Linked DNA regions of Homo sapiens: regions 1 and 3 are each linked to region 2. Evidence: promoter capture Hi-C in 16 types of primary human blood cells and fetal thymus (Javierre and others, 2016). All regions are on one chromosome and are shown on one strand. Each heading gives the region's core, a stretch centred on a gene start or on the middle of the fragment in contact. The rest is flanking DNA. Distances are from core to core; before and after follow the strand shown. Region 1 has its middle 5.5 kb from the start of ZNF442. Region 2 holds the start of ZNF625-ZNF20 (ZNF625-ZNF20 readthrough (NMD candidate)). Region 3 has its middle 2.5 kb from the start of ZNF563.

Evidence for each region. Contacts are between HindIII fragments. The CHiCAGO score rates a contact against its expected background, and 5 or more counts as called.
Region 1: a fragment that was not itself captured here is called in contact with the fragment with the promoter of ZNF625-ZNF20 in region 2 in 1 of 17 cell types (endothelial precursors); the score reaches 5.1 in endothelial precursors.
Region 3: a fragment that was not itself captured here is called in contact with the fragment with the promoter of ZNF625-ZNF20 in region 2 in 2 of 17 cell types (total CD8 T cells and non-activated CD4 T cells); the score reaches 5.6 in total CD8 T cells.

What each region holds. Positions count from the first base shown.
Region 1 is chr19:12,369,222-12,373,142 of GRCh38, forward strand. It overlaps a transcript of ZNF442 not described here. Among named protein-coding and RNA genes, the nearest start is that of ZNF442, 5.5 kb to the left of the region's middle. The HindIII fragment of the contact is 1,161 bases long and covers 1,183-2,343 here.
Region 2 is chr19:12,154,741-12,158,813 of GRCh38, forward strand. It overlaps ZNF625-ZNF20 (ZNF625-ZNF20 readthrough (NMD candidate)), which reads right to left and starts at 1,991. Exons shown (of 8, transcript NR_037802.1): 1 at 1,816-1,991. ZNF625 (zinc finger protein 625) reads right to left here and starts at 1,994. Exons shown (of 4, transcript NM_145233.4): 1 at 1,816-1,994. The coding sequence starts at 1,818. RefSeq lists a silencer at 1,511-1,680 and enhancers at 1,657-2,348, 1,911-2,020. The HindIII fragment of the contact is 6,672 bases long and covers 1-3,785 here.
Region 3 is chr19:12,333,941-12,338,403 of GRCh38, forward strand. It overlaps a transcript of ZNF563 not described here. Among named protein-coding and RNA genes, the nearest start is that of ZNF563, 2.5 kb to the left of the region's middle. RefSeq lists an enhancer at 1-614. The HindIII fragment of the contact is 248 bases long and covers 1,696-1,943 here.

The DNA of each region.
Region 1 (3,921 bases), core at 513-3,012, 210 kb after region 2:
GTAATTTTAAGCAGCTAGATATGGGAAGGGGAAGTTTGTAATATGGGTAGAAAGGAACTTCAGATGTTCACAAATCATAAACATGTCTCTTTATACCACACATGTTCAAAAGGCCAGCCGGGTGCAGTGGCTCACGCCTGTAATCCCAGCACTTTGGGAGGCCGAGGCGGGTGGATCACCTGAGGTCGGGAGTTTGAAACCAGCCTGACCGACATGGAGAAACCCCATCTCTACTAAAAATACGAAATTAGCCAGGCATGGTGGTGCACGCCTATAATCCCAGCTACTTGGGAGGCTGAGGCAAGAGAATCGCTTGAACCCAGGAGGCAGGGGTTGCAGTGAGCACTCCAGCCTGGGCAACAAGAGCGAAACTCCATCTCAAAACAAAACAATGGGCCGGGCGCAGTGGCTTACACCTGTAATCCTAGCACTTTGGGAGGCTGAGGCAGGCGGATCACGAGGTCAGGAGATCGAGACCATCCTGGGTAACATAGTGAAACCCCGTCTCTACTAAAACAATAAAATAAAATAAAAATTAGCTGGGCGTGGTGGTGCATGCCTGTAATCCCAGCTACTCAGGAGGCTGAGGCAGGAGAATCACTTGAACCCAGGAGGCAGAAGTTGCAGTGAGCTGAGATCGTGTCACTGCACTCCAGCCTGGCGACAAAGCTAGACTCCATCTAAAAAAAAAAAAACACGACGAGAAAGCTGCCGTGACTTTCTTCTGTGGGTGGGGATTTTCATCTTACAATAAGGTATCAGTGATCTAAACCAGCAGTTCCTAACCTTTTTGGCACAGGGACTAGTTTCTTAGAAGATAATTTTTCCATGTACTGGAGTGGGGATGGTTTTGGGGTGATTCAAGTACATTACATTGATTGTGCACTTAAATATTATTACATTGTAATATATAATGATGTAATTGTACAGCTCGCCATACTATAGAATCAGTGGGAGCCCTGAGCTTGTTTTCCTGCAACTAGATGGTCCCTTCTGGGGGTGGTGGGAGACAGTGACAGATCTTCCAGAATCTCATAAGGTGCATGCAACCTGGATCCCTTGTGTGCGCAGCTCACAATAGGGTTCGTGCTCCTATGAGAATCTAATGCTGCCTCTGATATGACAGAAGGCAGAGCTCAGGTAGTAATGTGAGTGATGGGAAGTGGCTGTAAATACAGGTAAAGCTTTGCTTACTCGCCCGCTGCTCACCTTCTGCTGTGTGGCCTAGCTCCTAACAGGCCACAGTCTGGTACCGATCCATGGCCCAGGGATTGGGGATCCCTGATCTAAAGGCAACAAGGGGTCACTGGTTCTGGTTTACTCTGGTTTTGAGCAGGCCTTATCTTATTCTGATAATTGGCAAAGGGTCCTGAAGCTCCCAGGCCATCTGGAGTCCTAGTAAGCTAGCATACCTAAAGATAAACAGACTAGGAAAAAAAAATGTTATCCACTTTTTCAGAAAATAATTAGCGGCTGGGCATGGTGGCTCACGCCTGTAATCCCAGCACCTTGGCAGGCCGAGGCAGGTGAATCACGAGGTCAGGAGTTCAAGATCAGCCTGGCCAACACGGTGAGACCCCGTCTCTACTAAAAATACAAAAATTATCTGGGTGTGGTGGTGGGCGCCTGTAATCCCAGCTACTCGGGAGGCTGAGGCAGGAGAGTCGCTTCAACCCGGAAGGCGGAGGTTGCAGTGAGCCAAGACCGCACCATTGCACTCCAGCCTGGGCAACAGAGTGAGACCCCATCTCAAAAAAAAAAAAAAAGAAAGAAAAGAAAGAAAAGAAAAAGAAAATAATTAGCCATTTCAGCTGTTTTGCTTTCTCAGCTATTTTTCCAGGACTGGCCCAGTAACAAAAGTACCAGATATAAAAGCATCATGAATTGGAAGCTGGAACCCATGGCTAAAAAGAAAGAAGCCAAACATCAAGTGTAATTCAATGAAACAAAATCCTGAATCAACTTGTGATAATTGTAGTGTTTCCTGACAAGACAAATTGGCAAGTTTGAAAAACAAGAAAAAAAAGATGTCTGATTATAACTAATGAATGATATTCATGCCTTTAAAAATTACACACACATGCACACACACACTCACAATCTATTATCACAAGACTGTTCTCTCTCTGAAGAATCAACCATCTTTCTGTAAGATGCTTCATCAACCTTTCACATTAACTGCCTTTGGAGTAATATTATATACTTACTTTTTCCTAGACAGTTGTGAAAACAGGGTGCAGTGGGTCAAAGGTGGTGTCAGGGGTTTATGTTCAGATTTTGCATATTTTTACAAATTGCAGCAATTAACTAGTTCATTACTGTGTTGATTTAAATTCTTACAAAAGCTTCCAGACAAAAATAAACACTCATATAACCATGAGGAAAAAATTCAGAATAGAATGGAGTCCAGAAATAAGGCCACACACCTATGACCACCTGATCTTGGACAAAGCTGACAAAATCAAGCAATGGGGAAAAGACTTCCTATTCAATAAATGGTTATGGTTTAACTGGCTAGCCATAGGCAGAAGACTGAAGCTGGACCCCTTCCTTACACCATATACAAAAATCAACTCAGGATGGATAAAGACTTAAATGTAAAACCTCAAACTATAAACACCCTGGAAGAAAACCTAGGCAATACCATCCTGTACACAGGAACAGGCAAACATTTCATGGCAAAGACAACAAAAGCAATTGCAACAAAAGAAAACATTGACAAGTGGGATCTAATTAAATTTAAGAGCTTCTGTACAGCAAAAGGAACTATCAACAGAGTAAACAGACAACCTACAAAATAGGAAAAACATCTTCAAACTATACATCTGACAAAGGTCTAATATCTACCACCTATAAGAAACAAAGAAATTTACAAGAGAAAAACAAACACCACCATTAAAAAATAGTCAAAGGACATGAATAGACATTTTTCCAAAGAAGACATACATGCAGAGGCCGGGGGTGGAGGCTCACACCTGTAATCCCAGCACTTTGGGAGGCCAAGGTGGGCGGATTACCTGAGGTCAGGAGTTTGAGACCAGCCTGGCCAACATGGTGAAACCCCATCTCTACTAAAAATACAAAAAAATTATCCAGACATGGTGGCGGGCGCCTGTAATCCCAGCTACTTGGGAGGCTGAGGCAGGAGAATCGCTTGAACCTAGGAGGTGGAGGTTGCAGTGAGCCCAGATAGCACCACTGCACTCCAGCCTAGGTGACAAGAGCAAGACTCCATCTCCAAAAAAAAAAAGAGAAAAAAGAAATACACTTCAATCAATGCAATCATCTAGAGGAATATAAAAGACAAATTTTTATTAACTGATTTCATCAAAAAACACTACCTATTCAACTCATGAATTTATGTGTCAAGAGAACTTATTTACAGAATTCTCTCACCTTGATGTGTTTTTTTCTGAAAGTAAGATGTAGGAATCCATAGTCCAGATCCACTTTAAGCAGGAGGCACTGATAAAGACAATAGAGTTACACCTTTTATGACAATTCTTTGATGTTCCAAATTTTCTGGCACATTTTGCACGAGTGAATTTGGATGTGAGTTTTCTTTTTTTGGAGATGGAGTCTCACTCTGTCGCCCAGGATAGAGTGCAGTGGCACGATCTCAACTCACTGCTACCTCTGCCTCTGGGGTTCAAGCAATTCTTCTGCCTCAGCCTCCTGAGTAGATGGGACTATAGGCACATGCCACCATGCCCAGCTAATTTTTGTATTTTTAGTAGAGACAGGGTTTCACCATGTTGGCCAGGATGGTCTTGATCTCCTGACATCGTGATCTGCCCGCCTTGGCCTCCCAAAGTGCTGGGATTACAGGTGTCAGCCACCGCACCCAGCCGGATCTGAGTTTTCTAAATTACATTTATAGCATATCTAGCCAGTGTGAGTTATGATAAGGAATCGTCAATC
Region 2 (4,073 bases), core at 741-3,240:
TAAAAACCTAAGCTCCCCATCCCACCCCAATCAAGTCAACTGAGTGGCTCTTTACCAAGGGGAGGCCCCCCAAAAACCTGAAAGTTCCCAGTTACATTAGTAAGGGAGATCAGACACTCCATACTCCCTTCTGGAGTTTAGACACAGCAACTGACCCACATTCATATTAAAATAGACATAAGACCTGCAAAGAGGCCGGGCACAGTGGCTCAGTCCTGTAATCCTAGCACTTTGGGAGGCGGAGGGAGGCGGAGGCAGGCGGATTATTTGAGGTCAGGAGTTTGAGACCAGCTTGGCCAACATGGTGAAACCCCATCTCTACTAAAAATACAGAAATTAGCCGGGTATGGTGGCGTGCACCTGTAATTCCAGCTACTTGGGAGGCTGAGGCAGGAGAATTGCTTGAACCTAGGAGGCGGAGGTTGCCGTAAGCCGAGATTGCGCCACTGCACTCCAGCCTGGGCGAGAGTGAGGCTCCATCTCAAAAAAAAAAAAAAACCTGCAAAGAAACCCTTTGTACCAATAAATACTAAATTGCAAACAAGACCTAAGGCCATGCAAGGCAAGGGTAAAGTCACGCCTTAGAATTCATAAAATCTAGTGAAACATATCTGTTTTTTGGTGGGGATGGAATCACGTGGCAGGTAACAGACTCCCTTCACTTAAACATTCCTTCCTACCCCTTTCAAATTTTAGACACAACTTCACACTCTCAGCCAACTGCCAACTACAGAATCCCTCAACCACCTGTGCCTTCTAAGCCCCGCTTCTACGTGTCCTGCCCTGTCAGCCTTCCATGCCTTGATTGATCTTTTCCCTGCAATTCCTGTCTCGCTGAAATGAATAAAACCAAACTGCCATCGAACCTCCTGGGGACCACTTACTCGAGGCTACATGCGGTTGTTTCCCTTGGTCACGTTCTCTCATATTCGGCGTAGAACATAGTTCAAGTTATTTTGCAGAGTTTTGCTCTTTCCGTTATCAAACTGCAAGCCATGACTGGGTGTTTCTCATTCAGGAAACATTTCTCATTCATTTTTTTCAAACTCCTATTCTGAGAAGCAAAACTCTTTAATTTTTAAGAGGACTCAGTTTAGTTTGTTGCTGTTGTTTTTGTTTTGTTTTGTTTGAGACAGGGTCTCGCTCAGTCGCCCAGGCTGGAGTGCAGTGGCGCGATCTCGGCTCACTGCAGTCCCAATCTCCTCCCTCAAGCGATCCTCCCACCTCAGCCCCCCAGTAGCTGGGATTACAGGTGGGCGGCACCACGCCCGGCTCATTTTTTAAAAATTTATTTTTAATAGAAACTAGGGTCTCGGTATGTTGCCTAGGCTGGTCTCGAATTTCTGGGCTGAAGCAATCCCCCCGCCTCAACCTGCCAGGCGTGACCCACTGCGCCTGGCCTTCAATTTAGTTTTTCAGGAAAAAAGGGGGGACTGGGGACCCCGCAGCCCACCGCTCCTCCCACACGAACCACACACCCGAGGCAGGATTGCCTCCATGACCCTCCCGTGGTCTCCGCACAATCTGGGGAGACGCGGGACTACGGGCGCGGAGCTCCCCAGAGAGGGCTCCGGGGCCGGGGCCAGGGCCGGGGTCGCAGTCGCAGCGCAGAGACGGGACAGGACGCCTGGGGTCCCGGCTGCCGGCCCAACCCCACCCTGCGGCCGAAGGGACCGAGGGCCGAGCTACGCCAGGGGGACTCCGCTCTGCAGACCCGAAGTCGCTGCAGGAAGGCCTGGGTCCTGCTAGAGCCGGTTCGAGCCGGTTCCTCCCGGCCCCTCCCCCGTCTCGGGACCCCCGGCCCCGCACACTCACCATTTCCCGGCTTCCAGGTGTCCTGGCCTCCTCTCCACGGATCCCTCTAACAGTCCAGTCACAGTGCGGGCGATGGAGCGACAGAAGCTATGGCGGAGGCACCTGGTCCCTCTCGGGGCCGGAAAACCGAGATCCCGACCTCCCTTTGGTGCAAGACGCCTGGGAGTCAGGAAAGCGGGAATGCGGCCTCCCCTTCCCCGGATGGACAGTTGGCAGGACCCCGCCCCAGCGCCCCTGATTGGATGAGGCTCCAGTCCCCGTCCCATCGGTCCTGAGTGACAGCGGAAGCCCTGGGTAACAAGGCCCGGCAGAACCGAAATGACCTGTTCCAACCACAGATTATCTAAGCGAGCTCCCTCCCTGCGTCTTGCTCTTTGGGTATTTGCATTTCAGCCAAATTTGCTCCGAATTGCTAGAGGGGGTACCGTTGTCTTCCTCACTCAATGGGCTGTCCCTGCTCCTTTGTCTTGCACAGGAAATTCCAGACTCAGAGTCCAGTGGAGGTGAAGGAAATTAAAATATTTTACGCCAAAATATATTTATTTGACAGATTTTGAAATGGCTGTGGCTCGGCCGCAAAAAAAAGTGGACTGGCAAAGCTGTCTTTGGAGGGGGGGAATTTGCATCTGCAGAGAATCTCCATTGATGAAACCATGCCCTCTCCCCCTTTATTTCTTTCCCTTTATCCAAGCTAGAAGAGATTGTGACCTGAACACAGGCAGGGTGCGGTGGTTCACGCCTGTAATCCTAGCACTTTGGGAGGCCAAGACTGGAGGATCCCTTAAAGTAAAGAGTTAAAGACCAACTTGGTCAACACAAGAATACCCCTGTTTTGTTGTTTTTTTTTTTTAATTTTTATTTATTAAACTTTAAGTTCTAGGGTACATGCGCACAATGTGCAGGTTTGTTACATATGTATACATGCGCCATGTTGGTGTGCTGTACCCATTAACTCGTCATTTACATTAGGTATATCTCCTAATGTTATCCCTCCCACATCCCCCCACCCTAGACCCCTGTTTTTATTATTTAAAAATCTTTACGGCCGGGAGCGGTGGCTCACGCCTATAATCCCAGCACTTTGGGAGGCCGACGCGGGCGGATCACGAGGTCAGGAAATCAAGACCATCCTGGCTAACACGGAGAAGCCCCGTCTCTACTAAAAATACAAAAAATTAGTCGGGTGCGGTGGCGGGCGCCTATAGTCCCAGCTACTCGGGAGGCTGAGGCAGGAGAATGGCGTGAACCCGGGAGGCGGAGCTTGCAGTGAGCCGAGATTGCGCCACTGCACTCCAGCCTGGGCGACAGGGCTAGACTGTCTCAAAAAAAAAAAAGAAAGAAAAAGAAAAAGAAAATCTGTGAAGGTCAGAATTAGAGCAAGACCCATTTGGGATGCCTCCTGGAGAAAGGGTTTATGAATTTTTATTTATTATTTTATTTTATTGTATTTATTATCATTTTTTTTGAGACGGAGTCTCGCTCTGTCGTCCGGGCTGGAGTGCAGTGGCGCAATCTCGGCTCACTGCAAGCTCCGCCTCCCGCCCGGGTTCATGCCATTCTCCTGCCTCAACCTCCCAAGTAGCTGGGACTACAGGCGCCTGCCACCACGCCCGGCTAATTTTTTGTATTTTTAGTAGAGACGGGGTTTCACCGTGTTAGCCAGGATTGTCTCGATCTCCTGACCTCGTGATCCGTCCGCCTCGGCTTCCCAAAGTGCTGGGATTACAGGCGTGAGCCACCGCGCCCTGCGGGTTTATGAATTTAACAGTAAATTTAGCTTAAACTGACTCAAGTCGAGAGCTTCCTGTTGGTGAAAATGAAGGTCTTAAAGGAGAGAATAATTTCTAAACTGAGGAGGGGACAGAAGGGCATTTCAAACTCCCAGATAAATCCTTAATTTTCTCTGCCTCATCATCTGGGACTGACCCGCCCTGGGGGGCTCCATTTCAGCAGTCACAGTTTGGCTTCCAAGCTTGGAAATATCATTTACCTTCTGACAGAGGGTTTTCCTTGTGAACTGTGCATGAAGCAGGCTGCTTATCTGAACTACTTCAAATGTTTGCTTTACTTTTCTTTTGATTCCTTTATAAAATATTGCTGCCGGCTGGGCGCGGTGGCTCACGCCTGTAATCCCAGCACTTTGGGAGGCCGAGGCGGGCGGATCACGAAGTCAGGAGTTCGAGACCAGCCTGACCAACATGGTGAAACCCCGTCTCTACTAAAAATACAAAAATTAGCCGGGCGTGGTGGCACACGCC
Region 3 (4,463 bases), core at 570-3,069, 180 kb after region 2:
CCTTACTGCCTTTTCCTCCTGGAGAAGGAGTCACAAGTGTTTTGCAGGGAATCCCAGACTCACAGTCCAGTGGAGCCATTCCCCTGGCCTCAGAGCAGAGGGGAGCCCAAGGCCACACAGGCCACACTGCAGCAGGAGGGTGGCCTGATGTCCACCGGGCATCAGGATTTGAGGATGAGACTCTTGGCGGCAAGGTTAAGCCTTCCTCTCTCACCTTGCCTCTCAATCTGCTCATTTTCAGCCAAGGAAATAAAAACAAGTCAAGAACGGTATTAAAATATCAAATGTGTGGAAGAACTGAAATCACACGGCAGCAATAAATGAATGAATGAATCAAAACAAAAATACAACAGGAAAAAAAAAGCAAAAACTTGAACTAGTGCAGATAAGCAGCCTGCTGCCCTCATACTTCAGCAAACGTCCCATTCAGGAGGCTAAACATATGCCCAAACTTGGCAGCCACTCTTAACTGTTGAAATGGAACCCCAGAGTGAACCAAAACCTGGTGATGAGACTGGGACACTGAAGGATTTGACTCTGGGAGCTCAACATACTTCCCTGTGCCCTCTGCAGAGTGTGGAAATGCCCCCACCGTCAAGATGTGCATTTTCACCAACAGGAAAGTTTCATGTAAAGTTAGTTTAAGGGCCCGGGGCGGTGGCTCACGCCTGCAATCCCAGCACTTTGGGAGGCCGAGGCGGGTGAATCACCTGAGGTCACCAGTTGGAGACCAGCCTGGCCAACATGGTGAAACCACATCTCTACTAAAAATACAAAAATTAGCTGGGCATGGTGGCGGGCACCTGTAATCCCAGCTACTCGGGAGGCTGAGGCAGGAGAATCACTTGAACCTGGGAGGCGGAGGTTGCAGTGAGCCGAGATCGTGCCACGGCATTCCAGCCTGGGTGACAGAGTGAGACCTGGTCTCAAAAAAAAAAAAAAAAAAAAAAAAAAGGTTACTTTAAGGTACTGACCTACATAAACTGTCAAATTCATAAACCCTTTACCCAGATTTTCCTAACACATAAATGGTAAATTCTGATTCTATGTGCAGCTTCGTGCTACGTGGAGGCGTGCGCAGGCTGCTGAGGAAGCACCAAAGGGGGCTCCATTTCTCTCCCTTTGCAGCCTTCAGAATGGGCTCGGTGTAGAGTCACTGGTTCAAACTCTGCTGCCCACTCCAGGTGGCTGGGGCTCAGAAAACAATACCCCAAAAAGAAGACCTTGGAAGAAGCCTCAGAAGCAAAAGTTTTTTCTCCACAGAGGGCAGAGGAAAAACTTAGTCCCATTCTTGGGACTCTTAGTCCTACTCTTCTATCCAAGGCTAGCCTTAGAAACTAGAATCTCTCTTCTCCAAAGTGGGTCGTAGAATCCAGAACCCTTTTCCCCTAAATCCAGGCATAAAATCAAAACATACTACTCTAACTTTCCATTGTCCTTTCTGTGTAAAAACTGGCCATAAGCAAATTAACTGTCCAACTTTGTTTGACTGCAGGTCAGGGTGGCCCTGGGGCTTCCCTGGGCCACATTGGAAGAAGATGAATCGTCTTGGGCCACATATAAAATACACTAACACTAACAATAGCTAATGAGCTTAAAAATATATAGCAAAAACAAAAATTCCTAATGTTTTAAGAAAGATCATGAATTTGTGTTGGGCTGCATCCAAAGCCTTCCTGGGCCATGGGTTGGACAAGCTTGCTGTAGGTCATAAGACCCTCCATTTCAGAGTGGGTCCTGCCTCATACTGAGAAGGAAGGAATGCATGCTCAGAAAGGCCAAGAACAATCTAGACACACAGGCCTTGTTGGGTTTCCCCACTCAGTCTGTTAGCATTGGATCATACTCTTTCAATCTAATCACATTTCTACACGGCTGTCCATACATTAAGCCTAAGCATTAAAATGAACAATTTCCTTTGTATCTCTGGGTCTTCATTCTGAAGCTTCCTGGATATACGCGTTAAATAAAATTTGTATGCTTTTCCTCCAATTAATCTGCCTTCTCTCCAATTAATTCAGCAAAACATCAGAGGGCAAAAGGGAATGTTCCCCATGGCCTCTGTAAGAGTCTTCACTTGCTTCTCACCAGCACTGATGAGTTAATTGAAACAAAGACCCTCAATTCCACTGTTTGAATAAAAAATTGACAATCTTGGGTTTCTTCCTGTGTCTATATATAAAGTAGTGGAAAAAATATATATAAGATATTTAATAGGGATTTGGAAACTGGTAAATGGACTGGGCATGGTGCCTTGGGCCTGTAATCCCAGCACTTTAGGAGGCAGGGGCAGGAGGATTGCTTGAGCCCAGGAATTGGAGACCAGTCTGGGCAACACGGGGAGATCTTGGTTCCTCAAAAACAAAACAAGGCCAGGCGCGGTGGCTCACACCTGCAATTCCAACACTTTGGGAGGCTGAGGCGGGCAGATCACAACGTCAGGAGTTCAAGACCAGCCTGACCAACATGGTGAAACCCCGTCTCTACTAAAAATACTAAAAATTAGCTGGGCATGGTGGTGCGTGCCTGTAATCCCAGCTACTCAGGAGGCTGAGGCAGGAGAATCGCGTGAACCCAGGAGGTGGAGGTTGTGGTGAGCTAAGATCGCACCATTGTACTCCAGCTTGGGCGACAGAGCGAGACTCCGTCTCAAAAACAAACAAGCAAACAAAACCAACTGGTAAATAATTATTCTGTTGAGAAACAAACATGCTAACAAACTATTATTTTTACCTTAGCAAACTGTTGTGTAAAACAACTAATTAAATGTGAGCTCTCCTCTCTCCTTGGCTTCAGTCACTCCCTGACCTTCATAGCTCAGGGTTGACATCATGTGCTCTGTGCCTGGGGATGGACATGTCCCATTTATCCATCTGAAACCCCCTCTCAACCCCAGCCCACACCATTGACCCAAACAGTCATATCTGTATCTAAATCCTAAGTATTGTACAAATACATTTTCCTTTTAAGCAAACTGGCCCAGGTTGAATTCACCTGTGGTTCTCATGCCCACAGTTTCATTTATTCATTTGAAACAGTCTTCTCAGATAGTAATGTCTTGGGTGAGGACACATCCATTTTATTTGCTTCTGTTCTTCTTAACCTGTGTCACTACCTGCTCAGTGAGGGCACAGACAGAATATTCTAAGTGACTATCAGCTGCTGTAAATACTGGAGGTCTCAGCACAACCCTGAGAAATCCGCACCAGAGAAAGGATGTGTGAATAATATTAATGTCACCCCTTACCACAACAGTTAGCTTATTTCTCTCTTTTTTTTTGAGACGAGCTCTCGCTCCATCACCTACACTGGAATGCAGTGGCACCATCATGGCTCACTGCAGCCTCAACCTCCTGGGCTCAAGCGATCCTCCTACCTCAGCCTCCCGAGAGGCTGGGACTGCAGGCATGTCCCACCATGCCTGGCTAATTTTTGTATTTTTTTGTAAAGATAGGGTTTCACCACGTTGGCCAGGCTGGTCTAAACTCTTAGACTCAGATGATCCACCCACCTTGGCCTCCCAAACTGCTGGGATTACAGGTGTGAGCCACGCTGTCTGGCCATTTTATTTTCCTTTCTGGAAAAAGGCTTTTAAAAATGGTTTTCCGGTTTTCTGGGGTACTTTCATACACAGCAATACAGATGATAAAAGTAAACATAACACCATTCAGTTTGGTTTCATTTATATGATTTAACTTTTCAACAGTTAAGAAACCAAAACATTCTGTCAACCTTAATTGGATTTCCCTGAATCTAAAAAGTGCCAGGAAAAAAATTCTACAAATAAAAACATGTAAGAGTCACTGAGGTGGTATGAAGAACCCTGAGAAGGTGACATTTAATGTGAGACATGAAATAATATATTAGTGTAAAAACTCAGGGCAAAGCCAGGTGCAGTGGTTCATACCTGTTAACTCCGCCCTTTGAGAGGCCAAGGCTAGAAGTTCAAGACCAGCCTGGGGAACAGAGTAAAACCACCATGTCTACCAATAAATAAATAAATAAATAAAAATTAGCCGAGCATGGTGGCATAGAACTGTAGTCCTAGCTATTCAGGAGACTGAGGCAGGAGGATCACTTGAGTCTAGGAGGTCAAGACTGGAGTGAGCTATGATCACACTGCTGCACTCCAGCTTTGGCAACAGAGTGAGACACTGTCTAAAAAAGAAAGAAAGGAAGAAAACAAACAAACAAAAAACCCTCAGGGCAGAGGATTCAGGGTAGATGGCAGGGTACCAAGCATAAAGAAGCTGTCTCCCCACCTAGACAACAGTTTTACTGGCAGAATCTGTCTGATGGAGCTATTTTATTTATTCTTATTTTTTGAGACAGAGTCTTGCTCTGACGCCCAGGCTGGAGTGCAGTGGCACAACCTCAGCTCACTGCAACCTCCACCTCCTGGGCTCAAGTGATTCTTGTGCCTCAGCCTCCTGAGTAGCTGGGATTACAGGTGTGTACCACCA